7 separate regions of the Homo sapiens genome follow, and regions 1, 2, 3, 4, 5 and 7 are each linked to region 6. Evidence: promoter capture Hi-C in 16 types of primary human blood cells and fetal thymus (Javierre and others, 2016). All regions are on one chromosome and are shown on one strand. The core of a region is centred on a gene start or on the middle of the fragment in contact, and the rest is flanking DNA. Distances in the headings are between cores, read along the strand shown.

The links. The method cuts DNA at HindIII sites, captures the fragments that hold promoters and counts their contacts. A CHiCAGO score of 5 or more calls a contact.
Region 1: a contact is called between a fragment that was not itself captured here and the fragment with the promoter of ZNF500 in region 6, in 3 of 17 cell types (neutrophils, fetal thymus and monocytes). The highest score is 5.9, in neutrophils.
Region 2: a contact is called between the fragment with the promoter of TFAP4 here and the fragment with the promoter of ZNF500 in region 6, in 1 of 17 cell types (fetal thymus). The highest score is 5.9, in fetal thymus.
Region 3: a contact is called between a fragment that was not itself captured here and the fragment with the promoter of ZNF500 in region 6, in 7 of 17 cell types (erythroblasts, neutrophils, monocytes and 4 more). The highest score is 8.7, in erythroblasts.
Region 4: a contact is called between a fragment that was not itself captured here and the fragment with the promoter of ZNF500 in region 6, in 1 of 17 cell types (naive CD8 T cells). The highest score is 5.8, in naive CD8 T cells.
Region 5: a contact is called between the fragment with the promoter of ALG1 here and the fragment with the promoter of ZNF500 in region 6, in 1 of 17 cell types (activated CD4 T cells). The highest score is 5.6, in activated CD4 T cells.
Region 7: a fragment that was not itself captured here is called in contact with the fragment with the promoter of ZNF500 in region 6 in 2 of 17 cell types (M1 macrophages and erythroblasts); the score reaches 5.3 in M1 macrophages.

What each region holds. Positions count from the first base shown.
Region 1 is chr16:4,427,526-4,431,299 of GRCh38, reverse strand. All of the region lies in intron 1 of DNAJA3 (DnaJ heat shock protein family (Hsp40) member A3), which reads right to left. Among named protein-coding and RNA genes, the nearest start is that of DNAJA3, 3.5 kb to the right of the region's middle. The HindIII fragment of the contact is 1,791 bases long and covers 915-2,705 here.
Region 2 is chr16:4,270,968-4,274,631 of GRCh38, reverse strand. TFAP4 (transcription factor AP-4) reads left to right here and starts at 1,609. Exons shown (of 7, transcript NM_003223.3): 1 at 1,609-1,974. The coding sequence starts at 1,886. RefSeq lists silencers at 665-1,314, 2,035-2,084, 2,445-2,604 and enhancers at 463-1,438, 1,735-1,784, 2,685-2,874, 2,416-3,392. The HindIII fragment of the contact is 8,835 bases long and covers 1-3,023 here.
Region 3 is chr16:4,478,561-4,482,269 of GRCh38, reverse strand. All of the region lies in intron 1 of HMOX2 (heme oxygenase 2), which reads right to left. LOC124903636 (a long non-coding RNA gene) reads left to right here. Exons shown (of 3, transcript XR_007064964.1): 2 at 391-506; 3 at 2,709-3,006. Among named protein-coding and RNA genes, the nearest start is that of HMOX2, 4.0 kb to the right of the region's middle. The HindIII fragment of the contact is 5,105 bases long and covers 1-3,709 here.
Region 4 is chr16:4,343,719-4,347,596 of GRCh38, reverse strand. All of the region lies in intron 27 of CORO7-PAM16 (CORO7-PAM16 readthrough), which reads left to right. All of the region lies in intron 1 of PAM16 (presequence translocase associated motor 16), which reads left to right. Among named protein-coding and RNA genes, the nearest start is that of PAM16, 5.7 kb to the left of the region's middle. RefSeq lists an enhancer at 1-248 and a silencer at 2,463-2,663. The HindIII fragment of the contact is 3,035 bases long and covers 1,111-3,878 here.
Region 5 is chr16:5,068,961-5,073,094 of GRCh38, reverse strand. ALG1 (ALG1 chitobiosyldiphosphodolichol beta-mannosyltransferase) reads right to left here and starts at 1,252. Exons shown (of 13, transcript NM_019109.5): 1 at 1,038-1,252; 2 at 67-144. The coding sequence starts at 1,245. RefSeq lists enhancers at 793-852, 1,023-1,132, 1,163-1,222. The HindIII fragment of the contact is 10,202 bases long and covers 1-3,287 here.
Region 6 is chr16:4,765,912-4,769,671 of GRCh38, reverse strand. It overlaps ZNF500 (zinc finger protein 500), which reads left to right and starts at 2,510. Exons shown (of 6, transcript NM_021646.4): 1 at 2,510-2,655; 2 at 3,596-3,760. The coding sequence starts at 3,694. RefSeq lists an enhancer at 1,192-1,271 and a silencer at 2,464-2,763. The HindIII fragment of the contact is 2,671 bases long and covers 27-2,697 here.
Region 7 is chr16:4,496,657-4,500,635 of GRCh38, reverse strand. The region is part of intron 1 of HMOX2 (heme oxygenase 2); the gene reads right to left. Among named protein-coding and RNA genes, the nearest start is that of HMOX2, 22 kb to the right of the region's middle. RefSeq lists a silencer at 34-328. The HindIII fragment of the contact is 2,942 bases long and covers 525-3,466 here.

The DNA of each region.
Region 1 (3,774 bases), core at 561-3,060, 340 kb after region 6:
ATTATTGAACTTGTACTCAACCCTCTTTTTATTTCGGAGTAAGGGGTTGCCCGGCCCAGTCCAGCCTCTCTCTCACCACTCATTCCAATGCCACAAGGCGGAGGCTGGTAGTGACCTGTGGCAGCTGTGGCTTCAACATTACGGGCAGAGAACACGGACAGGAGTTAGTACAGAGATAGTAACGCACAAAACTGCATGTGGATAAAGACAAATCACGTTTAATTACAAGACTGATGGCTTTGTTTTTTCTTTTTTTGAGACAGAGTCTCACTCTGTCACCCAGGCTGGAGTGCAGTGGTGTGATCTCGGTTCACTGCAACCTCCATCTCCCAGGTTCGAGCGATTCTTCTGCTTTAGCCTCTCAAGTAGCCAGGACTATAGGCGCACACCACCACACCTGGCTAATTTTTGTATTTTTAGTAGGTAAGAAGTTTCACCATGTTGGCCAGGCTGGTCTCGAACTCCTGACCTCAAGTGATCCGCCGGCCTCATCCTACCAAAGTGCTGGGGTTACAGGCATGAGCCACCATCCCCAGTCTGATGACTTTTGACATTATCCATAGGGCATCAATGATTAACAATAATTAGATTTCATTTAATAGACTATTTATTTTATCACATATGACCAGTAAATGTCCTGTCCTTTTTAGAACAACCCAGAATAAAATAAGCCTCCAAGTCGTTCTAAGAATGGCCAACCCACTGTCCAACAACTGCTTTCTTTTTTTTTTTTTTTGACAGGGAGTTTGGCTCTTGTTGCCCAGGCTGGAGGGCAGTGGCGCGATCTCGGCTCACTGCAACCTCTGCCTCCTGGGTTCAAGCGATTCTCCTGTCTCAGCCTCCCGAGTAGCTGGGATTACAGGAACCCGCCACCACGCCTGACCAACTTTTTCTATTTTTAGTAGAGACAAGCTTTGGCCATCTTGGCCAGGCTGGTCTCAAACTCCTGACCTCAGGCGATCAACCCACCTCCCAAAGTAATGGGATTGCAGGCATGAGCCACCATACCTGGCCACCAACAACTGCTTTCTTTCTGCTTGGAAGAAAAGTCACATCTAAAATGTTGTTATGTCATCTTACTACTAGATTTGAGACAAGATCACAGACTAGTGTTTGGACGCTGAGTTAATGACCTTTTCAAAATTTTTTTTTTTAAGAGACAGGGGTCTCATTATGTTGCCTAGGCCAAATTCAAATTCCTGGACTCCAGCAATCCTCCCACCTCAACCTCCTGAGTAGCTAGGACTATAGAGGCTCGCCACCACATGGCTTCTCAGTTGATGACTTTATTAATTTTTTGGTAGAGAAAGAGTCATACTCTGTTGCCCAGGCTGGAGTGCAGTGGCATCATCATGGCTCACTGCAGCCTCAACCTTCTGGGCTCAAGTGAAACTCCCACCTCAGCCTCCCAAGCAGCTGGGAGTACAGGCAGTTGCCACCATAGTTGGCTAATTTTTTTTTTTTTGAGACACAGTTTCGCTCTTGTTGATCAGGCTGGAGTGCAATGGCGCTAACTCGGCTCACGGCAACCTCCGACTTTCACGTTCAAGCAATTCTCCTGCCCCAGCCTCCCGAGTACCCGGGTTTACAGGCATGCGCCACCAGGCCTGGCTAATTTTGTATTTTTTGTAGAGACGGGGTTTCTCCATGTTGATCAGGCTGGTCTCAAACTCCTGACTTCAGGTGATCCGCCCGCATAGGCCTCCCAAAGTGCTGGGATTACAGGCGTGAGCCACCATGTCCGGCCACAGTCAGCTAATTTTTAAAAATCTTTTTGTAGGCCGGGCGCGGTGACTCACACCTGTAATCCCAGCACTTTAGGAGGCTGAGGTGGACAGATCATGGGTAAAGAGATCGAGACCATCCTGGCCAATATGGTGAAATCCAGTATCTGCTAAAAATACAAAAATTAACTGGGAGTGGTGGCACGTGCCTGTAGTCCCAGCTACTCAGGAGACTGAGGCAAGAGGATCACTTGAACCCAGGAAGCGGAGGATGCGGTGAGCCGAGATCACGGTGAGTCAAGATCATGGTGAGCCGAGATCGCACCACTGCACTCCAGCCTGGCTACAGAGCAAGACTCCGTCTCAAACAAACAAACAAAAAAAATCTTGGCCGGGCGCGGTGGCTCACACCTGTAATCCCAGCACTTTGGGAGGCGGAGGCGGGTGGATCACGAGGTCAGGAGATCGAGACGTCCTGGCTAACACAGTGAAACTCCATCTCTACTAAAAATACAAAAAATTAGCTGGGCGCGGTTGCAGGTGCCTGTAGTCCCAGCTACTCGGGAGGCTGAGGCAGGAGAATGGCCTGAACCCGGGAGGCGGAGTTTGCAGTGAGCCGAGATCGTGCCACTGCACTCCAGCCTGGGCGACAGAGTGAGACTCCGTCTCAAAAAAAAAAAAAAAAAAAAAAAATCTTTTTGTAGAGATGGGATCTGCCTATGTTGCCCAGGCTGGTCCCAAACTGCTAGGCTCATGTGATCCTCCTGCCTCAGCGCCAGCATAGCGCTGGAATTACAGTCGTGAGCCACCCCGCCCAACCAGTTGATGACTCTATCTGTGAAAACAGCACGTACCCTGAAGGATGCCACCTCTCACCTGTGTACACTACCTGATATAAAACTTGCCCATGGCAGGTTATGAGCTCACTTGGGGAACAAGACAGCTAACCGCAGTTCCTTAGTCACAGCTTCACACAAAGCTTAGTGTTTAGTGCCTGTTTCTCTCTTTCACATACACAATAATAACGAGTGCTCCCAAATTTGTACAGCTGGAACATGAACAAATTTGGCTTAATAAAACAAGTCACCTAAGGATTAATATTTGAATGAAAAGATGCAGCCAGATTCTATTTAAAACAACCTTGACATTAGAAAATGTTAGCAAGCTCTAAAAATGGCCACTTTTGCTCATGTTGAAAAATCTAGCCTGGCATGGTGGCACACACCTATAAGCCCAGCATCTTGGGAGGCTGAAGTGAGCCAGGATCACATCACTGCAATTTGGCCTGGGCAACAGAGCAAGAGTCCATCTCAAAATAAAAATAAGGCCGGTCGCGGTGGCTCAAGCCTGTAATTCCAGCACTTTGGGAGGCTGAGGCGGGTGGATCACAAGTTCAGGAGATCGAGACCATCTTGGCTAACACGGTGAAACCCTGTCTCTACTAAAAATACAAAAAATTAGCTGGGCGTGGTGGCGGGCGCCTGTAGTCCCAGCTACTCAGAAGGCTGAGGCAGGAGAATGGCGTGAACCCGGGAGGCGGAGCTTGCAGTGAGCTGAGATAGCGCCACTGCACTCCAGCCTGGGCAACACAGCGAGACTCCGTCTCAAAAAAAAAAAAAATTCATTCTGTTGGCCAGGTGCAGTGGCTGATGCCTGTAACCCCAGCACTTTGGGAAGCTGAAGCAAGGGAATCACTTTAGCCCAGCCTGGGTAACATGGTGAAACCCCATCTACAGAAAACTAGCTGGGTGTGGTGGTGCATGCCTGTAGTCCCAGCTACTCAGGAGGCTGAGGATGGAGGATCGATTGAACCTGGGAGGTCAAGGTTGCACTGAGTTGTAATTGTGCCTCTGCACCAGTCTGGGCAACAGGAGGCCCTGTCTTAAAAAATAATTAAATACATAAATAATCATTCTCTTAACCAAACACACATCCAATCTCTTTGTTCTCTGCCATCTCCTCAGTGCCCAGAACAGTGGCTGGCATACAATTGGCCTCAATTAACACCTGTGAATGAATGAATTTTCAGACAGGTGCTCGAAGGGGTTAA
Region 2 (3,664 bases), core at 360-2,859, 490 kb after region 6:
AGCGATTCTCCTGCTTCAGCCTCCCGAGTAGCTGAGATTACAGGCATGTGCCACCAGGCCCCCGGCTAATTTTGCATTTTTAGTAGAGACGGGGTTTCTCCATGTTGGTCAGGCTGGTCTCGAACTCCCGACCTCAGGTGATCCACCCGCCTCAGCCTCCCAAAGTGCTGAGATTACAGGCGTGAGCCAACGCGCCCAGCCGAAAGTTTTTTTTTTTTTTTTTTTTTTTTAAGTAGAAACATAGTAAGCCTTCCAGAGACTTTTTTTTGGTCAAGTGGTCTGGGATCTCTCCTTAGAGAAACTGCCTAACAGGTTGCTTCAAGGATTGGAGAGCGTGTAAGCAAAACTGCTCGGCATCCACCGGGTGCTGGCAACATCTAATAACAATATTTCCCAATAATAACAGTAACTATTGTTACTAGTAGGAATAAGTCAAATTAGGAGGCGCGATTTAGGCGGAACCTGGAAGGCGGTGGGCAGGATCCAGGACATTCCAAGGCAGGCGTGGGCTTCCTGAGCCAGGAGCCAACCCTCCAGGAGCCAGGGGAGGGCCTGGGGCCGGAAGGTGCGGCGTGCGAGCGGAGGACGGAAGCTCGCCGCCAGGGTCCCCGTCCCTGCCCCAAGTCGTCACCCCCTCTTGGGGAGCGCATCCTGGCGGAGGGGCAAGTCCCACACGGGCTTTGTTATGAATGGGAAGCTGCAGCCTTCAGCCCGCGGAGGGAACAGTGCGGGTCTGGGGGAATAGCAGGGGACCCGGCAGCAACCAGCAGACCTCCCCGCAGCGCTGGCAGCCTGCGCCCGGGGGCCGCTGCCGTTCAGGCCCGCCTCCACCCTCCCCTCCCTGCCGGGGCCCCCGGCTTCCTAGGGCGGCCCCAGCATCCGAGGCGCCCTTTGCCGTCCCGTCGCCGGGTCCAAGATTCCCAGGATCCGGAGTCCCGGCCGTGCGGCCAGCTAAGCAAGGCGGGAGGGAGGAAGCTGGCCGGCCTCCGAAGTCAGCCCCGAGTTACATGTGGGAAGCGGTGGCTGTGACGCAAGTTTCCAGGGGGCCCTGGGCTCGGCTCGAAGGGAGCACACCGGAGAGGCTCCGCTCCGTGCAGCTGCAATGGTGAAAAAGCAGAAGCCCCAAGCGCGAACCCCAGGCCGCCTTCCTTGCTGCCGCTGCACGCCCGACCCAGCCGCGCCCCCTCCTCCCTGCGGGCCGGCCGAGCGCGCGGACCCTGCTCTGGGCCAGTCGCTGCTGGACTCCGGGCTGCACGGGCTGGGCTCCCTGCGCGGTGGCTGGCCTTTTTTTTTTTTTTTTTGCAACGCTTGCCAACCTGTCAGCTGATGGACCTCATCACCCATAGTGGCGCATGTAGCTCGGCCGCAGCTCGCTCCATTCACGCCGCGCCCCGCAAGCCCGCCCGCGGCCCCCGGCCCCCTGCGCCCCGCGAGAGGCCTGCAGACCCCGGTTGCAGCCGGTCCCCGGGGGCCCGCGCCCCTCTCGCCCCGGCCTCGCGCCGCCCGGGGGGCGCTGCAAATAGTCCTTTGTTTACATGCAATTCCTTACTCCGCGGAAGGAGGCCGGGGGAGTGCTGAGTTTTCACCAGCTGTTTCCCGCCTTGAAACAGACATCTGATCAGCTGCAAACACACACACACACACACACACACACACACACACACACACACACACACATACACACGCCCGGGGAGGCAGGCCGGAGAGACCTCCCTCCCGCCCCTCCCGCCCGCCTCCCTCCCCTCGCCGCCGCCGCCGCCGCCAGCATCTGGGACCGGCCGATTCTGCACCTCCGTCCGGCGCTGCCCTTTGATTCGGATTTCCATCTTGCATTCTCCGGCTGATCGCGGGACCTGGCTCGTGCAGAGGAGGGGGGCCGATCGCTATGGAGTATTTCATGGTGCCCACTCAGAAGGTGCCCTCTTTGCAACATTTCAGGAAAACAGAGAAAGAAGTGATAGGAGGGCTCTGTAGGTGTGTACTCCTCCTCCCCCCACCCCCTTCCTACCACTGCAGCCCCCGGCCAGCCCGCCCGGGCGGGCGCGCGTGTGCGCACGCATGGCCCGCGCCGCCGACCCCGCTAGCCTTTCTTAGCTGCCGGGACGGCTGCAGCCCCACACGCCGGGTCCGCGCCGCCCCGGGACCCTCCTTCCTTGGAGCATGGGGGCCCCAAGCGGCCCCGGCCACTTTTGTCCGCTGCAGGCGGGCGAGTCGCGACGTTTGTAAATTGCAAACAGACCCACGTGGTTCTGCAGCAGTCCCGGCCATGCTTGGTGCTGGTGGCCTTCCCCCCCGCGCTTCCTCTTTCCCCCTCCTGCGGCGGCTTCCTTCCTCTCCTTCCTTCCTCGGGATCTGAGGTCGTCCCCATCCAAGGGGGTCTGGGGGCCCGGGGCGCGCGTGGGGGTGTAGCTAGGGCGGCTACAATGCAGCCATGCCGCGGCTCCCGGCGCGGGGTGGGGGCGGGGAGCCGGGCACTGTGCGTGTTTGCAGAGCGGGGCTGCAGCGGGGTCGGGGGCGTGCTCGCGTGTGGGTGTTGGGGGTGGGCGGACCCCGAGGGGCCCGCGCGGCCGGTAGGGGCGCCGCGGCCCGGGGCACGTTGGCTGCCGCTCGCTCGCCCGCCCGCGCCCGGGCGCTGTTTACTAGCGAGGCCTGGACGTGACTCTGCAGCCCTCTTGGAGTAGGCGGACCTCTGCGCGCGGCCTCGCGGGAGCTGTAGTTCTCCGTGTCCTGCTGGTGCAGCATTGTGGGATTTGTAGGCGCTCCTGGGCCACGCTTTCCCTGCACAAAGCTCGGCCCCCGCGGGCACGATGGGCAAGGCAGGCCAGGTGGGCAGGCCATTTGGGGAAGGGACACCTGAGGCCGCCCCTAGCCTCGCAGGGCAGCTTCCCGCCGCACGTGGGTTTCCTCTGCAAACTTTCCCATCCAACGCCCCTCCCCCCTGCCGTAAACCGAAAGCGTCGGGTCCCCCAGCCGGGTGGGTGGCCCGAGGTCCGCAGGCCTCCCCAGAAGCCACTTTGCAAGCTTTGGTCCTAGGTTGCTCTAAACCCAAAGGGTGATGGACTCAAGGACCACACACAGCCAAACCACCCCGCACACTTCTTAAAATGCACATGCCTGGAACTCTGATCGCTGGGGCCCGGACATCTGCATTTTGAACGACCCCCTGGGCGTGGTGTGGGGGAGGTGGGCGTTCTACGGCGTGCGCAAGTTTGGGACCTGTGGCCCCTTTCCTGCCGCGCTGCTCCAGGAGCGAAATGGCTCCCCAGGGCTGGAGCCACGTGCTCTGCCGCCCGAGGCAGTCTGGGCGGGGATTGAGGGAGGAGGAGCCCGCCGGTGTGGCACAGGCTGGTGGACGCTAGCGCCTGCAGAATCCGGCCTGGAGGGAAGGTTGCTGCACACGTGTAGACACTCCTGCCCAACCCTCTGCCCCGGGGGTCCCCACCTTAAGGCTACTCTGAAGTTCCCAGTCAATACCTAGACTTGGGCCAGTTGATGGGTTTGGCAGCTGGCAGGGATGCCCCGAGGGCTGGCCCTTGCACGAGGCCCACCTGGAGGGCCCAGTAATAATAAGTAAAAAAAATTCTTGAGCTCTTTTTATGTTCTGGGGACTCACTTTGCTAGAATTTTCTCACTGAGTTGTCATAATCTTTCTATGAGTCAAAAG
Region 3 (3,709 bases), core at 476-2,975, 290 kb after region 6:
AGCATATTTTTCCCCTTCTGGGTCCACTTGCCTTTTTATAAACACAAAAAGTCTTACAGAGCAGGACAAATATGACACTGAACACAGACATTTGAAAATTTTGCTGAGATTGACAAATTCTCAAGTATATGGTAGAGGAATGGAGTTTTTTAAGTTATTTTCTAATTACTGGGATACCTGCTATTACCAAGCCAACCGAAGGCCTGACTTTCCCTCTGCCTTCCTACATAAAAAGAAGAGAGTAAAGGTTTAATGTCTTCTAGGTAGAAGTTAGATGACCACCCAGGCCACACTTCACCAAGTTTGCTTTTTCATCTGCCGTCAAACACTACTATCCACACTCAGCTTTGCTCATTTATTCCTTCCCTTCTCCCTCCTGCCCTCCTCCAGACTGCCACAGAGATAGTTCAAGGTGACAATGGCTCCTCTGCAGCAGCACATAGCAGTCTTGCCAGACACAACAGCAGATCAAGTAACTACTGAAGATGATGGCTACACTTGGACAGGTGACATTACATTATCATCAACAAACATTTATCACCCTCTTGAGTACTGTGACTACAAAGAAAGATAAGATCTTGCTCTGCACGTCAAGTACCTTTCAATCTAGAGAGAGAGTTAGGTGGAAAAATAAAAAGATAACATAAGGTGTACCATTCTATAAATATTAATTGTGCAATACAGACAACTGTGCTAAAGATAGAGCTTTATGTACCCGACTTTCCAGAACAATTCTGATTTCAAATACCCTGTTCCACCCAATTCTTTCAGTACACCTGTATGCTCAATGACAGGTGTTTCGCATAAAAATTATGATCATCACAGCTACTTATGAGGCCAGCCAGTCAACTAGATTAACTAAAATCAGGATGGCATTATAATGCCAGATTGTTTTATTTTTTTCTTTTTTTTTTTTTTTTTGAGACGGAGTCTCGCTCTGTCTCCCAGGCTGGAGCGCAGTGGCGCGATCTCTGCTTACTGCAAGCTCCGCCTCCCGGGTTCCCGCCATTCTCCTGCCTCAGCCTCCCGAGTAGCCGGGACTACAGGCGCCCGCCACCATGCCCGGCTAATTTTTTTTGTATTTTTTAGTAGAGACGGGGTTTCACCGTGTTAGCCAGCATGGTCTCGATCTCCTGACCTCGTGATCCGCCCGCCTCCGCCTCCCAAAGTGCTGGGATTACAGGTGCGAGCCACCGCGCCCGGACCAGATTGTTTTAATCACACTAGTACCTTCTTGCAGCCTCAGCACAGTGCTTTAATAGTAGGCCCTCTATCTCAGACATGAAAACATGAGCAAAAGCAAAAATACGAGGCCTGGCCGGGCGCGGTGGCTCACGCCTGTAATCCCAATGCTTTGGGAGGCCGAGGTAGGTGGATCACCTGACATCAGAAGTTTGAGACCAGCCTGACTAACATGGTGAAACCCCGTCTCTACTAAAAATACAAAAAATTAGCCAGGCGTGGTGGCAGACGCCTATAATCCCAGCTTCTCCAGAGGCTGAGGCAGGAGAATCGCTTAAACCTGGGAGGTGGAAGTTGCAGTGAACCAAGGTCACACCACTGCACTCCAGCCTGGGTGACAAGAGTGAAACTCTGTCTCAAAAAAAAAAAAAAAAAATAGTAGGCCCTTAGCCGGGCACGGTCGCTCCACCTCTAATTCTAATTGGGAGGCCAAAGTGGGTGGACCACTTGAGGTCAGGAGTTTGAGACCAGCCTGGCCAGCATGGTGAAACCCCGTCTCTACTAAAAATACAAAAATTAACTGGGTGTGGTGGCACACACCTGTAATCCCAGCTACTAGGGAGGCTGAGGAAGGAGAATCACTTGAACCCAGGAGGCAGAGGTTGCAGTGAGCCGAGACGGCGCCACTGCACTCCAGCCCTGGTGACAGAGCAAGACTCTAAGGAAAAAAAAAAAAAAAAGGCCGGGTGCTGTGGCTCACGCCTGTAATACTAGCACTTTGGGAGGCCAAGGAGGGTGGTTCGCTTGAGGTCAGGAGCTGGAGACCAGCGTGGCCAACATGGCGAAACCCCATCTCTACCAAAAGTACAAAAATTAGCCAGGCATGGTGGTGCATGCCTGTAGTCCCAGTTACTTGGAAGGCTGAGGCAGGAGAACTGCTTGAACCCCAGAGGCAGAGATTGCAGTGAGCTCAGATCAGATCACTGTACTCCAGCCTGGGTGAAAGAGCCAGACTCTGTTTCAAAAAAATAAAAAATAAAAAATAAAAAAGCCGGGCGCAGCGACTCATGCCTATAACCCCAGCACTTTGGGAGGCCAAGGTGGACGGATCACCTGAGGTCAGGAGTAGGAGACCAGCCCGGCCAACATAGTGAAACCTCATCTCTACTAAAAATACAAAAATTAGCCAGGCATGGTGGCATACGCCTGTAATCCCAGCTACTCAGGAGACTGAGGCTGGAGAATCGCTTGAACCCAGGAGGCGGAGGTTGCAGTGAGCTGAGATTGTGCCACCACACTCCAGCCTGGGTGACAGAGCAAGACTGTCTCAAAAAAAAAAAAAAAAAAAAAAAAAAAAAAAATAGAATAAGAAAAAGGCAGGCTGGGTACAAGATACTAGTCTGTTATGCCATTCTTCCCCACAGCCTTTTTAAAGTTACTGAGAACTATGACAGTAATTAGGCCTATAATACTCCTGGGAAGGAAACGAATCTATCTGTGAAACAAAAATTAATTTTTTCCCTAAGCTGAGTGAAGAGAATATCCACTTTGTTGGCTTCTGACATACACACTGACAGCACAGTTCACCAGACAACAATCACTCTTCTGGCGTCCCTTTCCCCAGGTATTCTATTCGCTTACTGCTCTATCTTCCCTGCCAGTCCACTCCCTCCTCTTTCCAGCCTGTGCCTTAGACAAGGACCCCAAACAAGGATCACCTGGGAAACTCCAAAAAACAGATTCCTAGTCATAATCCCAATTTTACCAAAAAAGAAGCGTTTGGAAACCCCTTAGATCGACAAGCAGCATCCAAAGACACCAAAAACTTAGGCTCATCAAGTATTAACTTCCTGCCTCAGCCTCCCAAGTAGCTGAGATTACAGGTATGTGCTAGCATCCTACTTATTGTTCACTCTGATAGAATTTTTTTTTCTTTGAGATGAAGTTTTGCTCTTGTCGCCCAGGCTGGAGTGCAATGGCATGATCTTGGCTCACTGAAACCTCTGCCTCCCAGGTTCAAGCAATTCTCCTTGCTCAGCCTCCCGAGTAGCTGGGATTACAGGCTACTTTTTGCAAGGCTAATTTTTGTATTTTTAGTAGAGACGGGGTTTCACAATGTTAGCCAGGCTGGTCTCGAACTCCTGACCTCAGGTGATCCACCCGCCTTGGTCTCCCAAAGTGCTGGGATTACAGGCGTGAGCCACCGCACCCAGTCTAGGTCAAGTTTTTCATCTCTTTCCTTTCCAAGGAGTTAAAGCTGAATTTCAAATTTTACAGTGAAATACACAATTCTAATTTTCTTTCTTTCTTTTTTTTTTTTTTGAGATGCAGTTTTGCTCCTGTTGCCCAGGCTGGAATGCAGTGGCACAATCTTGGCTCATCGCAACCTCTGCCTCCCAGGTTCAAGTGATTCTCCTGCCTCGGCCTCCCAAGTAGCTCGGATTACAGGCACACACCACCATGCCCAGCTAATTTTTGTATTATTATTATTTTTTTCTTAGTAGAGATGGGGTTTTTCCATGTTGGT
Region 4 (3,878 bases), core at 1,379-3,878, 420 kb after region 6:
TGGATAGGTGGATGAGGGGCTTGCCTGCACCGCCTAGTTCTGGACCTGCCGCTGTTTGTCCATGTGGTGTTAATGGGCATTGCCTCCTGAGGGCCTTACTGTCCTCTTGTGAGGAGGGTGTTATTCTCTCCATCTTGCAGTTAAGAAAACTGAGGTAGGCTGGGCACAGTAGCTCACACCTGTAATCCTAGCACTTTGGGAAGCCGAGGAGGGCAGTTCATGCGAACCTAGGAGTTCAAGACCAGCCTGGGCAACATGGCGAAACCCCATCTCTCCAGAAAAGTACATTTAGCCAAATGTGGTGGCGTGTGCTCAGCCTCCAGAAGTTATGAAATTTCCACCTACTTGTGAAATCCTAACCCACTTGTGTTTGTTCATTCCCCTAATGGCCCATATCACATCCCGCCTGTTAAGGAAAGAGCAGGTCCTCGGAGGCTGAGTACAAGTAGCTCCAGCTACTCGGGAGGCTTAAGCAGGAGAATCTCTTGAGGCTGGGAGGCTGAGGCTGCAAGTGAGCCATGATTGCACCACTGCACTCCAGCCTGGACGACAGAGTTAGACTCTGCTTCCAAAAAAAAGGCCAGGTGTGGTGTCTCATGCCTGTAATCCCAGCACTTTGGGAGGCCGAGGCGGGTGGATCACCTGAGGTCAGGAGTTTGAGACCAGCCTGACCAACATGGTGAAACCTCGTCTCTATTAAAAATACAAAATTAGCTAGGCTTGGTTGTGTTCACCTGTAATCCCAGTTACTTGGGAGGGTGAGGCAGGAGGATCGTTTGAACTGGTGAGGTGGAGGTTGCAATGAGCCGAGATTGAACCACTGCACTCTAGCCTGGGTGACAGAGCGAGAGTCAGTCTCAAAAAAATAAATAAAAAATAAAAGACCCAAACCAAAACAAAAAAAGATTCAGAGAGGTTGAGTAATTTGTCCAGGGTCACACAGCTATTGAGAAAGAAAGCTAGGGTTCTGGTCCCAGGTCAACGTGGTTCTCGTTCTGCTTCCTTGCTGCTTCCCAGCTCCCTGAGGGAATGTAGTATGGTGTTTTGCAGCCTTCACCCCTGAGGAAGCAAAGGGCCTGTATCAAATGAGCTGCTATTTTGAAAGAAGCTTTGTTACTTCATAGTGCCTGGTCATTGTCAGATTTTGTGAAACAGTAGTAATGAATGAAAACCAATGTTTATTGAGCACCTGCTGTACCATTAGGCTGTGTGCCAGGCATTTGACAGGCATTATCTCAGCTTTATTGGTGGCCACATTTTACAGGTAAGCAAACTGGGTTGCTCAAAGGAGTTGAGAACGTGTCTATGTCAGATAGCTGGGATTTTTGCACACAGGTGATCCCAAAGCCTGCAGGTGTAACCATTACACTACACTGCGTCTTCTCAGAGATGCCTCCTATAGGAACCTTGCTGGCCTCAATGGGCCGTCCAGTCTGCTGAAACTTTGCAGGCCAGCCCCCCTCTGCCCTGCAGCTCTAGGCAGCTGAAGCCACAGGCCACCACGCCGCTTTGGTTTGAAGTGTGCAGGGGATGGTCGGGGAAGCTCCCCAGTTATGACCTCAGCTCTTACCGTTCATTATTTTGCAACAGTCATTGGCCTTGGCAGAAAAGTAAACAAGTGATTGCAAGGCTGTACGATGGCAGCAGAGGGACCGAAGGCTGTTGGTGTGAGGGGTAGTCTGAGACCTGAGCCGTGTTTCAAGCCGAGGGGACCCTCTGACTTTCACCTCTGTCCTTCAGACAGCACCAGCATCCCATCCCTGAGCCTCCTGTTCCACTCGGGAGGGGCTTTAGGAAGGAGGCGAAGTCAGGTGAGACCGCAGGTGTCATCAGGTGCATCCCTGACCCTCCCTCATCTGCAGTACAGCCACAGCCCTGCCCCTCGCTGTGATCACAGGAGGGTCTTCTCTGGGCTCTTTCTGCTGTGAAATCCAGAAGTTATGAAGTTTCCACCTACTTTTGAAATCTTAACCCACTTGTTTGTTCATTCCCCTAATGGCCCATAATGACATCCCACCTGTTAAGGAAAGAGCAGGTCCTCGGAGGCTGAACAAGGCCAGCTCTGGAGTCGAATCCACTGGAATCTGGAGCAAGCCCCTCTGGCCTCGGGGTTGGGTTCTTGATACTTGTCGGCTTGCCCAGGTGCCCTACCTTCAGACCCCGGGACCCTGCGTAGTGACTGCTGTGACAGATAGCACCAGCCTTGGGTTTCCGATCTGCCTCCGAGGCACCTGCTGTTACGTCCTCGGGCCAGTCAGCAGTCCCCCACCCCTGAGTTGTCAGAATTAAACGGCACAATGAATTGAACGTGTTTGGCACCGTGCCTGGTGTGTGGACTCAGTTGATACTTGTTGACTGAAGGCAAATCTACAGAAAAGCACTAGGAAGAAAGGGAAAGTCACTCGGCTGTGCCACATGAGCTTTCAACCTATGCCGAGCTGCCTCCAGCCCGCGCCACCCCCCTGCGTCTACGGCTTTGCAGTCACAAGATCCTTTGTATGTGCTGTCTATATATAATCGCTTTGTTTCACAAAGATCTGTGCATCTTTCCATGTCATCCGCCAGATTCCCAGTCTTTCCCAGGCCAGCCTAGGCTATTGGCTGCTCGCAGGAACTCCCTTCTGCCTTCTCTCCTGCCAGTTTTGGCTCAACCCAGTCCCTCTGCCTAGAAAGCCCTAGTATTTCCATCATGATTCTTCCTACCCTGCAAAGCCCAGCCCAGGAGGAACCCCCTCCTCTCACGGAACCCCCTCCTCTCACAGAACCCCCTCCTCTCACACAATCCCCTCCTCTCACACAATCCCCTCCTCTCACAGAACCCCCTCCTCTCACGGAACCCCCTCCTCTCACAGAACCCCCTCCTCTCACGGAACCCCCTCCTCTCACGGAACCCCCTTCTCTCACGGAACCCCCTCCTCTCACAGAACCCCCTCCTCTCACGGAACCCCCTCCTCTCACGGAACCCCCTCCTCTCACAGAACCCCCCCTCACACAATCCCCTCCTCTCACGGAACCCCCTCCTCTCACAGAACCCCCTCCTCTCACGGAACCCCCTCCTCTCACACAGTCCCCTTCTCTCACAGAACCCCCTCCTCTCACAGAACCCCCTCCTCTCACAGAACCCCCTCCTCTCACACAGTCCCCTCCTCTCAGAGAACCCCCTCCTGTCACACAGTCCCCTCCTCTCACAGAACCCCCTCCTCTCACACAGAACCCCCTCCTCTCACACAGAACCCCCTCTTCTCACACAGAACCCCCTCCTCTCACGGAACCCCCTCCTCTCACAGAACCCCCTCCTCTCACACAGAACCCCCTCCTCTCACAGAACCCCCTCCTCTCACGGAACCCCCTCCTCTCACGGAACCCCCTCCTCTCACGGAACGCCCTCCTCTCACACAGAACCCCCTCCTCTCACCGAATCCCATCTCAGTCTTGAGTTTTCCCTCGACTCTGTTGCTTCCGCTCACATCTTAGTGAGTCCCCAGGGCCTCTGCGGGGCATGGAATCACACGTGCAGTGTTCCGGCATGTTCAGCCTGGTGTGTGACAGTGGGGTTCCCTGCCAGGCCAGCAGTGTGCTCTGACTCGGGGCAGGGACCAGGTTCTGTGTAGCTTTGTGCTCAAGTGCTGAGCAGAGTAGACTCTCAGCAGATGTTTGAATGAATGGGTGAACCAATGGCTGCACAAATGAACGAGCCTGACTCTCCCTCATGATTTGGTCCATAGTGTGTTTAAATACCCTCCTAGTGGGCTTTTAGCTCCTTGAAGATGGAAACAGGTTTGCATAGTAAGTTTGTTTTATTGAATGGAATGGACTTAAAGTCTTCGGACTTGGGAGAATTAGGACAGATCTGTTTCCCCGTTGGTAAAGTAAAGGTT
Region 5 (4,134 bases), core at 3-2,502, 300 kb before region 6:
TTCAAACGAACACCCCCTGCCCCCAGCCCATGGATTCAGAGGATTCTGGAGTTGACGGCATCCTACCTGCAAGACTCTGAAGTTCTGTCAACCCCACAATCTGAATTCTGTTGTTCTGCAAGAGCTCATCATGGGGTTTGGAGTCTGAAAAATGAGAATGATCCCTTTAATGTACCAGAAGCAGCAATCTAAAGTCAGATAATCTCCCAACTCAGGCTGAATCACGGACAGTGTTTTGGAAAGTAAGATATTTCAAAACCTCTCTCTGCTCCTCACTAGCCAGAACAGAGAATGCGGCCAATTCTTGTTCAGATTGCTCTAGGAGGCACACAGAGATAGGGCCTGAATCTTACCTACCTTCACTTAACATGATGCCTGGCAAACAGTAGGTGCTCAATTAAACTAATCTAGATTGTCTGGATAGTGGAATTTTCCCACCACAGAGCCATCCCTAGGAAGTCCCACTCTACCCCATCACCCTAGGATAGCAGATTCTAAACAGGGATTAAAGGCAACTAGTGCTGTTCCCACTTCTTCCTGAGATGGGGTTGAGCTACCCTCTCAAGATACCAACGTGGAGAATAATGAGGGAGCAGACACCGCTGCCCTGCACACTGTGGGGAAAAGCTGGACATGAAGAACAAATGAAAACATCTGTCTGCAGAGCTCTGCGTTGAGGGATGAGGAATGAAATATCCTGTCAGCTCAGACATAGCCTGACAAGGGTAGCTGCACAGGGACGTAGCTACCAGCACTAGCCCTGGAGTTCCACGCACCTGGGTTCCACTTACTAGGAGAATTACGTGAGACCACGCAATGGATTCACTTAACACACTTCTGACACGTGGCAAGATTAACGCCGGCTATACCTAGAGACCCACCCAGGAAAGGCTGGGGCAGAACCGCTCGTCTAATCTCGGAGAGCTGCCCAAAGGCGGCGACTAAAGGAGCACTTCCGCCTCGACTCCCCGGGGCGGTTAGAACCGAGGATCAACGGCTGAGAGAGCATCGTCCCTCCCAGACCCTTGGCCACTCACTGCAGAACCCCAGGAGGGTCACCGAGAAGCCGTGCATGGCCAACGACAGCGCGTGGTACTGCATACGGGGGCTGCGGCCCACGTCGCCCAGCACCACCGCTACTACATGCCGGGCCGCCCGCCCCCGGCGCCAGCGCTTCCATCCTCCCAGCAGCAGCAGCGGCAGCAGCAGACACAGCGCCAGCAGGACCAAGCATGAGGCCGCCATCTTGGCTGGCCCGCAGCAGTCACGTGACCGCGCTTCCTCGCGCTGTGCGCAGCCGCAGACCGAGCCTCCGAAGTGGGCCGAGAGGGCGAGAAGTGGACGCGGTTCCCTAACAGGGGCCCGGGGAACCCCCAGGAGCCCCTCGGGGCCAAGAATTAGTAGTAGTAGGACACACGCACATACACCAGATTCCCTACACACCAGTGTATTTCCCCGACTAAAGTAAAGCTGTTACTGTATTGGGATCTAAGAACTCTCTTCAGGATTCAAAGATAATTTCAAAATATAGTGACACAAGAATTTGGATAAATTTCATCCTAACATTGATAAAGGAGCCAGATGCTGACGAGTACGAATTGTAGAGTTCCGTCTATGTAAATAAAAACCAGTCCTCGCTGTTAGAAGTTAGGGGCTGGTGGGTTCTGCTTCTGGATCTGGTGCTGGTAATGTGGGTGTGCTGCATTTGGGGCGGTACCTCAAGCAGCAGATTACCTGCCCATTTTCCAGGGTGTACATCACACTTAATAAAACATTTAAAAGGTAGAGAGGGGGAAGGACAAACAAGGAAGTAAACACCATCATGATTTTGCTTAAGTATCAATGGCTAGAAAGGAAATTTCCACAGTGACCCTCCAATTTCACCTCCCAAAGTAGCCATAGTGAGAGTTTAATGTGTGTCTCTGCGATGGCCTGTATTAGTCCGTTTTCATGCTGCTGATAAAGACATACCCGAGACTGAGCACTTTACATAAGAAAGAGGTTTCATGGACTTACAGGTCCACATGGCTGGGAAGGCCTCACCATCATGGCAGAAGGCAAGGAGGAGCAAGTCACCTCTTACATAGATGGCAGCAGGCAAAAAGAGAGCTTCTGCAGGAAAACTCCTTTTTATAAAACAATCAGGTCTCGTGAGGCTTATTCACTATCACGAGAACGGCACGGGAAACACCTGACCCCATGATTCAGTTACCTCCCACTGGGTCCCTTCCACACAACACATGGGAATTCAAGATGAGATTTGGGTGGGGACACAGCCAAACCGTATCATGACCTTTTTTCTTTGAAAGCGGTCCCTTGCAGAGAAACACCAAGAGCTCACTGGTGATGCTACCCCATTGCCTCCACTTGGGAGCTGCCGCAGAACCTGGAGAGCCACCACCCAGACCGTATTCAACAAACAAACAAGACTCCTCCCCTGATGAGGACCACAGGCAGCACCCACGGGACAGGGTAGCCCACATGGATGTGGCTCCCCAGTGTCCCTGGGCTCAGCTCAGGGCTTGGCACACTTTGCATCTGCTTTTCACAATTGCCCCATCACTCCCTTTCTATGGATTCAGAAGGGACAGCTCACGCCTTAAGCCAGACCTTGAAACCCGAGCTTTCAGAAGGAAAGGAAGGACGAGTAAGTATCTGCAGACAGCAGGGATGGGCATACAAACATGCTGGCAGCGGCATTTATCCTCCAGTTCCCAGCGAGGCCCCTGCCTCCAGGTTGCGTGTGCTGGGGTGGAGGCCTGTGACACATCGCCTGCCCAACTCTGTCGACGCTCTGTAATGGGACAGGTAGGGATCTGGGACCTCAGCCTCAGGACTCCTGGCTTTCCTGCTCCACCTCGGGCGAGTCACTCCCCATCAATTTGCTTTCTTCGTCTGTGAATTAAGGGAGGGGAACTTCAAGTCTTTGAGAGCCTGTCCTGCTCTGATGAGCTAAGAGGATAAAGACTATGGTGATGACAAACCAAAAGTAGATGCCTCCCTCTGGTAGGTGAACCTCCGTCGGGGAGGGAGTTGCCGTGGTGTCTCCTGGAGAGAGGGGACGGAGCCATCCCCAGCAGGGGGGCGGTTTCATAGCTGGGCCAGCCCACCTGTCCGGCTTTCTCACTTGGCATCCATTCCACATGAGATCCAGTCTTTCCAACAATCAAGAGGATATATGGATAAGTCACTCAATCTCCCTTGGAGCCTCAGATTTTGTTCAAGTTGACTGAGCACCCACTTGAGGGGTGATCAAGGATTAACAGAAGTAATGACAATGACAAGCTTCCCCTAGAACCTCTGTTCCCAGTGGTGCTCCCAAGGGGGCAAAAATGGCTCTTGGGGAGCAAAACATCCTTACCCTTTTTATGTATAAAGCACAGATAATGATACAATACACAAGCATGCAGTATATCTGCAGTATTAAAATTTTATGAAGGCTGAAAGCAGTGGCTCATGCCTGTAATCCCAGCACTTTGGGACGCTGAGGCGGAAGGATCACTTGAGCCCAGGAGTTCAAGACCAGCCTGGGCACCATAGTGAAACCCCATCTCTACAAAGAATACCCAAAAAATGGTGGTGGCGTGTGCCTATAGTCCCAGCTACTCGGGAGACTGAGGTGGGAAGATCACCTGAGCCCAGGGAGGTCGAGGCTGCAGTGAACCATGATCATACCACTGCACTCCAGCCTAAGTGACAAAGCGAGACCCTGTCTCAAAAAAATAAACAAGTAAAATAAAATTTCATGGGGCAGTACATAAGGAACCCTCATCTTCTGCCAGTGGGCACGTAAATGGCCCAGCCACTGTGGAAAACAGTCGTATGGTCCCTCATTAGGTTCAACATAGAATTATCACGTGACACAGCAATGGCATTCCCACGTATACACCCAGGAGAATGAAAAACAGGTTTTCGAACAAAAACTTGTAAACAAACATCAGTACTGTCCACAAGAATCAAATCATGGAAACAATCCAGAGGCTCATCAGTGGATGAGTGATGAACAGAATGCGGTCTGTCCACAGCTCCCACAGCCTCCCACCCGAGGTTTCCCAGGTGTCTCCTTGTTTGCTTGTTTGTTTGTTTGTTTTGAGATGGAGTCTCACTCTGTCGTCCAGGCTGGAGTGCAGGGGT
Region 6 (3,760 bases), core at 1,261-3,760:
TTCTGAGATCTGTACTCCACAAAGCTTCTTATCTGATCACGATGCTATCCTACTTAAAACCCCAAACTCTATTGACTCCAAGGATAAAATCCTTAATCCTCACCAGAGTCTCCAAGTATGGTCAGGCCTTGCCCATCCCTCCAGCCACATCTCCCAATCTCTGGTCTCCATTCTGTTCCTCAAACGCACCGTGTTCTCTCCGGCCCCAGGACCTTTGCACTTTTCACTCCTGCTGTCTGGAATCCTCCCCACCGGTTCCCCAGGTTAACCCTAGGCTGCTCAACTGTCACTTCCACCCTGAAGGTATCAGGTTCCCTCTTTTACGCCGCTTGCTAACATTTGCCAAAGAAGTGATTAAACAATTCTTCGTGCAATTTTGTCCACTGTATGCCTCTCATGGTAATTTTGTCCACTGTATGCCTCTCATGGCAAGCTCCATGAAAGCAGGCACCTGCCACCACTCCATCACCCGAGCGCCTAGTTAAGGGGGCAGTTGGGAGGACTCAACGTGCAGCGTTTATGCATTTATTATGCCTGGATGAATGGTCTTGAATGAGTTACAACCTTGAGGGTTAATGTCCCCCATTAACAGATATGGAAACTGAGGTTCAGGGCGCGCAAGGGAACCGCCCGCAGTCTCGACGACAAGGACGCTGCCACCGGGAGACTGCAGCCCCTTCCTCCGAGCCCCTGGCAGTGCCGCCACTTGAGGAGACCCTCCAGGCCGCCAACCCACCCCCTCTAGAGCGCCCAGGAATCTGCCTCCGGGGAGGGCGCGGGGCGCTCTGGGAAATGTAGTCCTGCCAGCTTCCTGAATCCGGCGTCCCCAAATTTGTTTCCGGCGGGCTGAGTCCTAGCCGATGCTTTGGGAAAGACGCGCGAGATTCCGGGGGTAGATCCGGGATGCGAGGCGGGGCGCGCATGCGGGGCGGAGCTTGTGCGGGGCGGGGCGTACGTTGAGTGTACGCCTGCTGTGTATGCTGCGTTGCTGCTCACCCGAACTCGGTGCTGGGACTCTTTCCTGGGCACCCCAGGCAGAGGGAAACTCCGGATCATGTTCAACCAAAGAGGAAAAGCAGCGAGAATCCAGCATAGGAGACGGGCCTTAGGATGCCCAAGTTAGGATTAGGGGCAAACTACGTTAACCTGGTAGTTAGGAGCTGAAGTTCTGGAATCAAAGATTTGGGTTCCAATCCCATTTCTGTACTTCCTGTTTGACCTTCTCTGGGGGGTTCAATACTTAAAACTCTCAGAGCTTCAGGGTTTTGTTTTGTTTTGTTGAACCGGTAGGTCTAGTTATAGTACCTCTATTACTAAATGAGGAAGAAACGAAGTACAAATGTGTTTTGCTTGCTTGATGCTCAAGAATTGATGCGACCGGGAGCGGTGGCTTACTCCTGTAATCTCAGCACTTTGGGAGGCTGACGTGGGTGGATTGCTTGAGGCCGTTGGAGACCAGCCTGGGCAACATGGGGAAACCCCATCTCTACTAAAAATACAAAAATTAGCCGGACCTGGTGGTTCGTGCCTGTAATCCCAACTATTCGGGAGGTTAGGTAGGAGAATTGCTTAAAACCGGGCGGCGGAGGTTGCTGTGAGCCAAGGTCGAGCCACTGCACTCTAGCCTGGGCGACAGAGTGAGACCCTGTCTCTAAATAAATAAATACATACATACAAGAATTGATACCTGGCTGGGCACACCTGTAATCCTGACACTTTGGGAAGCTGAGGCGGGAAGATTGCTTGGGCCCAGGAGTTTGAGACCAGCCTAGGCACCATGGTGGGACTTCATCTCTAACAACAACAACAAAGATTGATGCCCATTATTATGTTGTCAGAAAGAAGCAGGCAGGACAAGGGATATTTGGGGTTGGACGTTGTTGGGGGCCCTCTTGGGGGAGGGTGGGCGCAAGCACTTGGCATCTCTTCCAGTTTTATCTTGAACAACTTCTGCCTTTATTTATTTTATTTATTTATTATTTATTTATTTATTTTTTGAGATGGAGTTTCGCTCTTGTTGCCCAGGCTGGAGGACAATGGCAGGATGTCGGCTCACTGCAACCTGCGCCTTAGCCTCCTGAGTAGCTAGGATTACAGGCATGAACCACCACGCCCAGGTTTCTCCACGTTAGTCAGGCTGGTCTCGAACTCCCGACCTCAGGTGATCCGCCCGCGTCGGCCTCCCAAAGTGCTAGGATTACAGGTGTGAGCCACCGTGCCCGGACGACTTTGCTGGCTTTAAAGATGGAGGAGGCGGCCAGAGGAGAGCGGAGCGGGTGTGGAACAGTGACTGGGAAAGTAGCCCAGAGGCTGCAGAGTCGCCGCACGCTCGCGCGGTCACCGAGGTGCTGGACTACGTTACCCACAATGCGTGCCTTTGAGGACCACATTAACCACAGTGCACGTCGCGGACCCGCCCACTCGGCCGTGTTGCCACGCCCCCAACGGCCGGCTTAGCCAATGGTGCCACGGCTACGTTACCCACAATGCCGCCTGCGGGCCCACCCGCACGGCCTGGTTTGCACCCCTGGTTTAGGGTCTTCGGCCCCGGCTCTGGCGTCCCTGGCTGCCAAGCCTGAGGCCCGCAGTCCTACTCCCGCCGAGACCCGCCGCTCCGGTCCTGCCCCGAACTGCCCACGGCCGGCAGCGCTTCCAGTGAGTGCGGGGGGCGCGGGGACGCGGGTCCCGGCCGAAGCTTCGATTTCGCGGCCCGCGCCAGCACCCGGGTCTGTGCCGCGGCCTCGGGTACCGCTCACCCTCCACCTGAGGGATGAGACGGGAAAGCAGCCCGGCCTGGGGGTCCCAGCTCTCCCAGGACCCTGGAATTGGGGGGCTGTCGTGACCACCCACGCGGGGGTGCCTGACGGGGCCGCGTAGGGGCTTCAGGGTTCGCCAGACCTGGACACCGGGGATCAAGTTGAGGCAGAGTCTGCAGAAAGGCCCTACTTTTCATCAGATTTCCAAAGGAACCCCTTCCATATAGGACCCACTCTAATCATGGAAAATAACGATTCTCGAGCTCTGACCGCAAACATCCCTTTTAGATTGTTTTTGTTTGAGTCTCTCTCTGTCGCCCAGGCTGGAGTGCAGTGGCGCTATCTCAGTTCACTGCAACCTCCATCTCCCGGGTTCAAGCGATTCTCCTGTCTCAGCCTCCCGAGTTGCTGGGATTACAGATGTGCTACCACCATGTCGGGCTAATTTTTGTATTTTTTGTAGAGACAGGGTTCCACCACGTTGACCAGGTGGTCAACTCCTGAACTCACGTGATCTGCCCTCCTCTGCCTCCCAAAGTGCGGGGATTACAGGCGTCAGCTACTGCCCCCAGCCATCCCTTTTAGTTCTGTCAGCAACCTGTGTGTGTAGGTCCTGTTATCATCTCTGTTTGCCCAGTGAGGAAGCAAAGCCCAGAGCCCTTCAGTAAATTACCCGGGAATTAACAGGGGGTTAATAACAAAGATGACATTCATCCACTTCCTTTTCCTTTTCCATGGTGGGGTGAGCTGGCCTTGGAACCAGGGCAGGGGCTTCCCAGGCCAAAGGGCTTATCCAGCCCCAGGGCTGCCCTTCAGATGGTTTTATCGTCTCTCCACAGGGCCCTGAAAAAAACTCTCTTCCTGTGTCTGGCCAGAGGTATAGAGAGAGACAGGTTCAACTCTAAGGCCTGAAAAGGAACAAGGCCCACCGGAAGCAATGGCCACTGTCCCTGGCCTCCAGCCCCTGCCAACCTTGGAGCAGGACCTGGAACAGGAAGAGATCC
Region 7 (3,979 bases), core at 746-3,245, 270 kb after region 6:
GACTATATTATAATTCATTTCCCATCTGGTCATACAGAAAGGAACAATAAAGACTTCTTTGCCCTGGAGAAACCTGAACTGAAGGAAGAGAGCAGGTTGCTGAGCTCAGCCAGCACCGAGAGTAAGCAACAGCAGACTGACTCACTCCCTGGAATGAGAACAATTCTGCAGGCTTCTGACTCAATGAAATAGTGACACTTGACAGTGACCAGCTACTACACTGCATGAGATGCCCACAACATGAACTCGGGTTGTTACCCCACAAACACAGGGAGGCTAAGTGGCTGCTCAGAGACTTCTGCACTGGGACTCCACGAGTGCTCCCTCCCTGCTGAACACCTTGCAGTTGGGCATCAGGATTCTTACCATCACCCTGGATGGGGGTCCCCTGCCTGCTTCCTAGAAGGCTGTTTGCAGCTCAGAGCTCACTCCGATATAAAATTGCCACCATATTAATATGAGGTGATTACGCTTCAGCTTCCACAACTGACTGTCATCCTGTCTTCCCAGTTAAACCAAAAGCTTCCTACAAGAGAGATCCAGATTCCCTCAGATTCAGATCAGGGTCCAATATGACTTATAGGCCAGCACCCTGGGGAGCATCCAACCTGAGTTACAGCTGTTGCAAATACACAGATGGAGTTCCTACTGAGAAAGCCAGTTAAATAGAGGATTTGTGTGCCTGTGCCTGTGTGTGTAACAAGAAAATAACAGCTAAATTCTAAAATACCAAGTAAAGTAATACAAATTTTTAATTGGGTCCCATGTCTCTAAATTAACTGTATGAAATCTGTTTTGACTTCTCTTCAGATCTGACTTGACTCCTAAGTTTTTAACTGACAATTATATTTATGGGGTACAGTGTGATGTTTGGACACATGTATACATTGGGGAATAATTAAATCAGGGTTATTAACATATCCATCAGCTCACATGCTTATCATTTCTTTGTGGTGACAACTTTTAAAATCCACTCTTTTACCAATTTTGAAGTATACAATACTATTATAATATTAACCATATTAACTATAGTCACCATGCTGTAAGGCAGATCATCAGACCTTATTTCTCCTAACTGAAATTTTGTACCCTTTGATCAACATCTCCCCTTTCCACACCCACCCTTCCCTTCCCCCAGCCGCTGGTAACCAACATGTTACACTCTCCTTCTATAACTGACTTTTTCAGATTTCACATATAAGTGATATCATGCACCATTTGTCTTTCTTTCTTTGGCTTACTTCACTTAGCATAATGTCCTCTAGATGCATCCATGTAGTCACAAATGACAGAATTTCCTTCTTGTTTATGGTTGAGTAGTATTCCATCGTGCATAAATACCAGCTTTTAAAAATCCATTAATCCACTGTGTGCTGCGAAGACTAAGTGGGCTAACACGCATGAATGTTTGACAAAATGCAGCACCACCTCAAATATTGAGCTCTTACTGAGGAAGTCGCTGGTGAGAATGAGCAATTGGGTGATTGTTAAACACTGAGGAAGAACAAGAAATCCAGCAATTTCAGATAGTTCTGGGCAGGTCACACCTGAGGACTTCTGACTCAGACCTCATTCTCCAGCAGCGTCAGGAAATAGGAATATCTGCCCTTTCTAAGGTGAGCCACGTGAGCACTGGAGGCTAGAATACCCACATTGCAGATGCCACTGGAGATTGGCTGAGCCACATGTTTGGGGCAGCAGACAGAGCTCAATCAGTTCTAATCCAACAAGGCACGAGATAACAGAGACTTCTCAACACCCTGAAGAAGCCACATCATCTAGAACTACAGCTTCTGAGTTTATAGAATAAATGGCCTGAGGTCTCCTCTGAACTCTGGTACTACCATTCCTCAGGAAATGTTATACATAAGCCCTTTCATTTCAATCGCTGGGGGAATTCAATCCCACGGTTCACTGAACGGAAGAATAAATATTAACCTCTTGATAAAAGAGCAAATCCAGGCTGGGTGCAGTGGCTCACACCTATAATCCTGACACTTTGGGAGGCCAAGGTGGGAGGATCACCTAAGCCTAGGAGCTCAAGACTAGCCTGGGCAACACAGTCAGACCTTGTCTCTACGAAAAATAAAATAATTAGCCAGGCGTGGTGACACACACCTGTAGTCCCAACCACTCGGGAAACTGGGGCAAGAGGATCTTTTGACCCCAGGAGTTCAAGGATGCAGTGAACTATGATCACACCGTTGCACTCCAGCCTGGCAAGGGAGTGAGATGCAAAAAAAAAAAAAGAGCAAGTTAAGACTGAATCCAGCCGGGTGTGGTGGCTCATGTCTGTAATCCCAGCACTTTGGGAGGCCGAGCGGGTAGATCACCTGAGGTCAGGCATTCAAGACCAGCCTGGCCAACATGGCAAAACCCCATCTCTACTAAAAATATAAAAAAATTAGCCAGGTGTGGTGGTGTGTGACTCTAATCCCAAATACTTGGGAGGCTGAGGCACGAGAATTTCTGGAACCTAGGAGGTGGAGGTTGCAGTGAGCCGACAGTGCCACTGCGCTCCAGCCTGCACAACAGAGCAAGACTGTGTCTCAAAAAAAAAAAAAAAAAAAAAAAGACAATGAATCCTGGAAAAGTGGGGACTCTGGGGACACAAAGCACTTGAGTCAGATTACTAAATAAGCACTTGCGCATTTGGGCAAGAAGGCAGGCAAAAGCAAAACAACTGCAAACTAATTTAAAGGCATTAACCTCTTAAGTAACCTCAAAAACTGACAAGAGACCGGTTGTGGTAGCTCAAGCCTGTAATCTCTGCACTTTGGAACTCTGAGGCAGAAGGATCACTTGTGGCCAGGAGTTCAACACCATCCTGGGCAACAAAGTGAGACCCCCTCCATCTCAAAAAATACATTGAATAAAAAAGACAACTGAATAGCAGTTCAAGAAGTCCAAGACTTTTCTTGCAGGCTTTTTTACTGGAGAAGAGAAGTGTGCTCATCTCTAGCCATGTTCAAATACAACTGAGCAAGCAGTGAAGACAGACACCAAGGACAGAACCTGAGACACTGAAATGAGTTCAAAGAAGGGGCCTGGAATCGACTATTGTTGGGACAATGATGAGTCCTGGTAGAGCCTTCCTATTATAACTGAAATAAGCACAAGACTCGCCCCTGTTCCCTGATTGCCACCTCGCTTTATATGAGGACAATGTGTCCCAGGGCTGAGAAGATGAGGATTCTTTAGTTCCATAAGCAGCACCAGGAGCGGGAGGGGTGAAGTCCTGAGTGAATTCTAAAATGGTTCTGGTGGGATTTTTACAGGGACAGAGGCTAGACTTCATGCATCCCACAGGGCTGGCTTTAACTAATGAAACCTTGGGTCATCCCTAGGTTACCATCAAGCAAAAATTATTCCAACACTGAACAACCTTGAAAGCAGGTGTCGTGTGGATAAGTGGAGTCAGTCATGTTTCCTTTCATACAGGCACAAAAATTGTCACCTGTAAGCTTCAGCTTCTATCATAAACAAGGACTGTGAATAGCATTTGGGGGTGGAGGGAAAAAAAGTAGGTGATTAAGATGCATATGCAGAACTGTCATTTTGGGAAACCTGAGAGTGCCATCAGCTCCCAGGTGCTTTCCTCTCTATAAACAGCCTGAAGCCTTAGAAGCCATTCCTGGAGGCTGGTACTGGTAGCTCACACCTATAATCTCTGTACTTTGGGAGGCCGAGGCTGAAGGATCACTTGAGTCCAGGAGTTTGAGACCAGCCTAGGAAACATAGTGAGACCCCCCGTCTCTACAAAAAAAAAAATAATAATAAAATAATTTTTTTTTAAAAGAAGCCATTCCTGCCTTGGCAGAAGGCCCTCAAGTTCACCCAAGAGAGCACCAGACTATAAGTCTGACAGACCTGGGTATACCAGGCTAAGTCACTTTCAAGCAATGTCTCACTGGCTCTGAAGAAACTAAGATCAAGAGAATTAACATGGGCAAGATCACTCAGAGAGCTAATGGTCAAG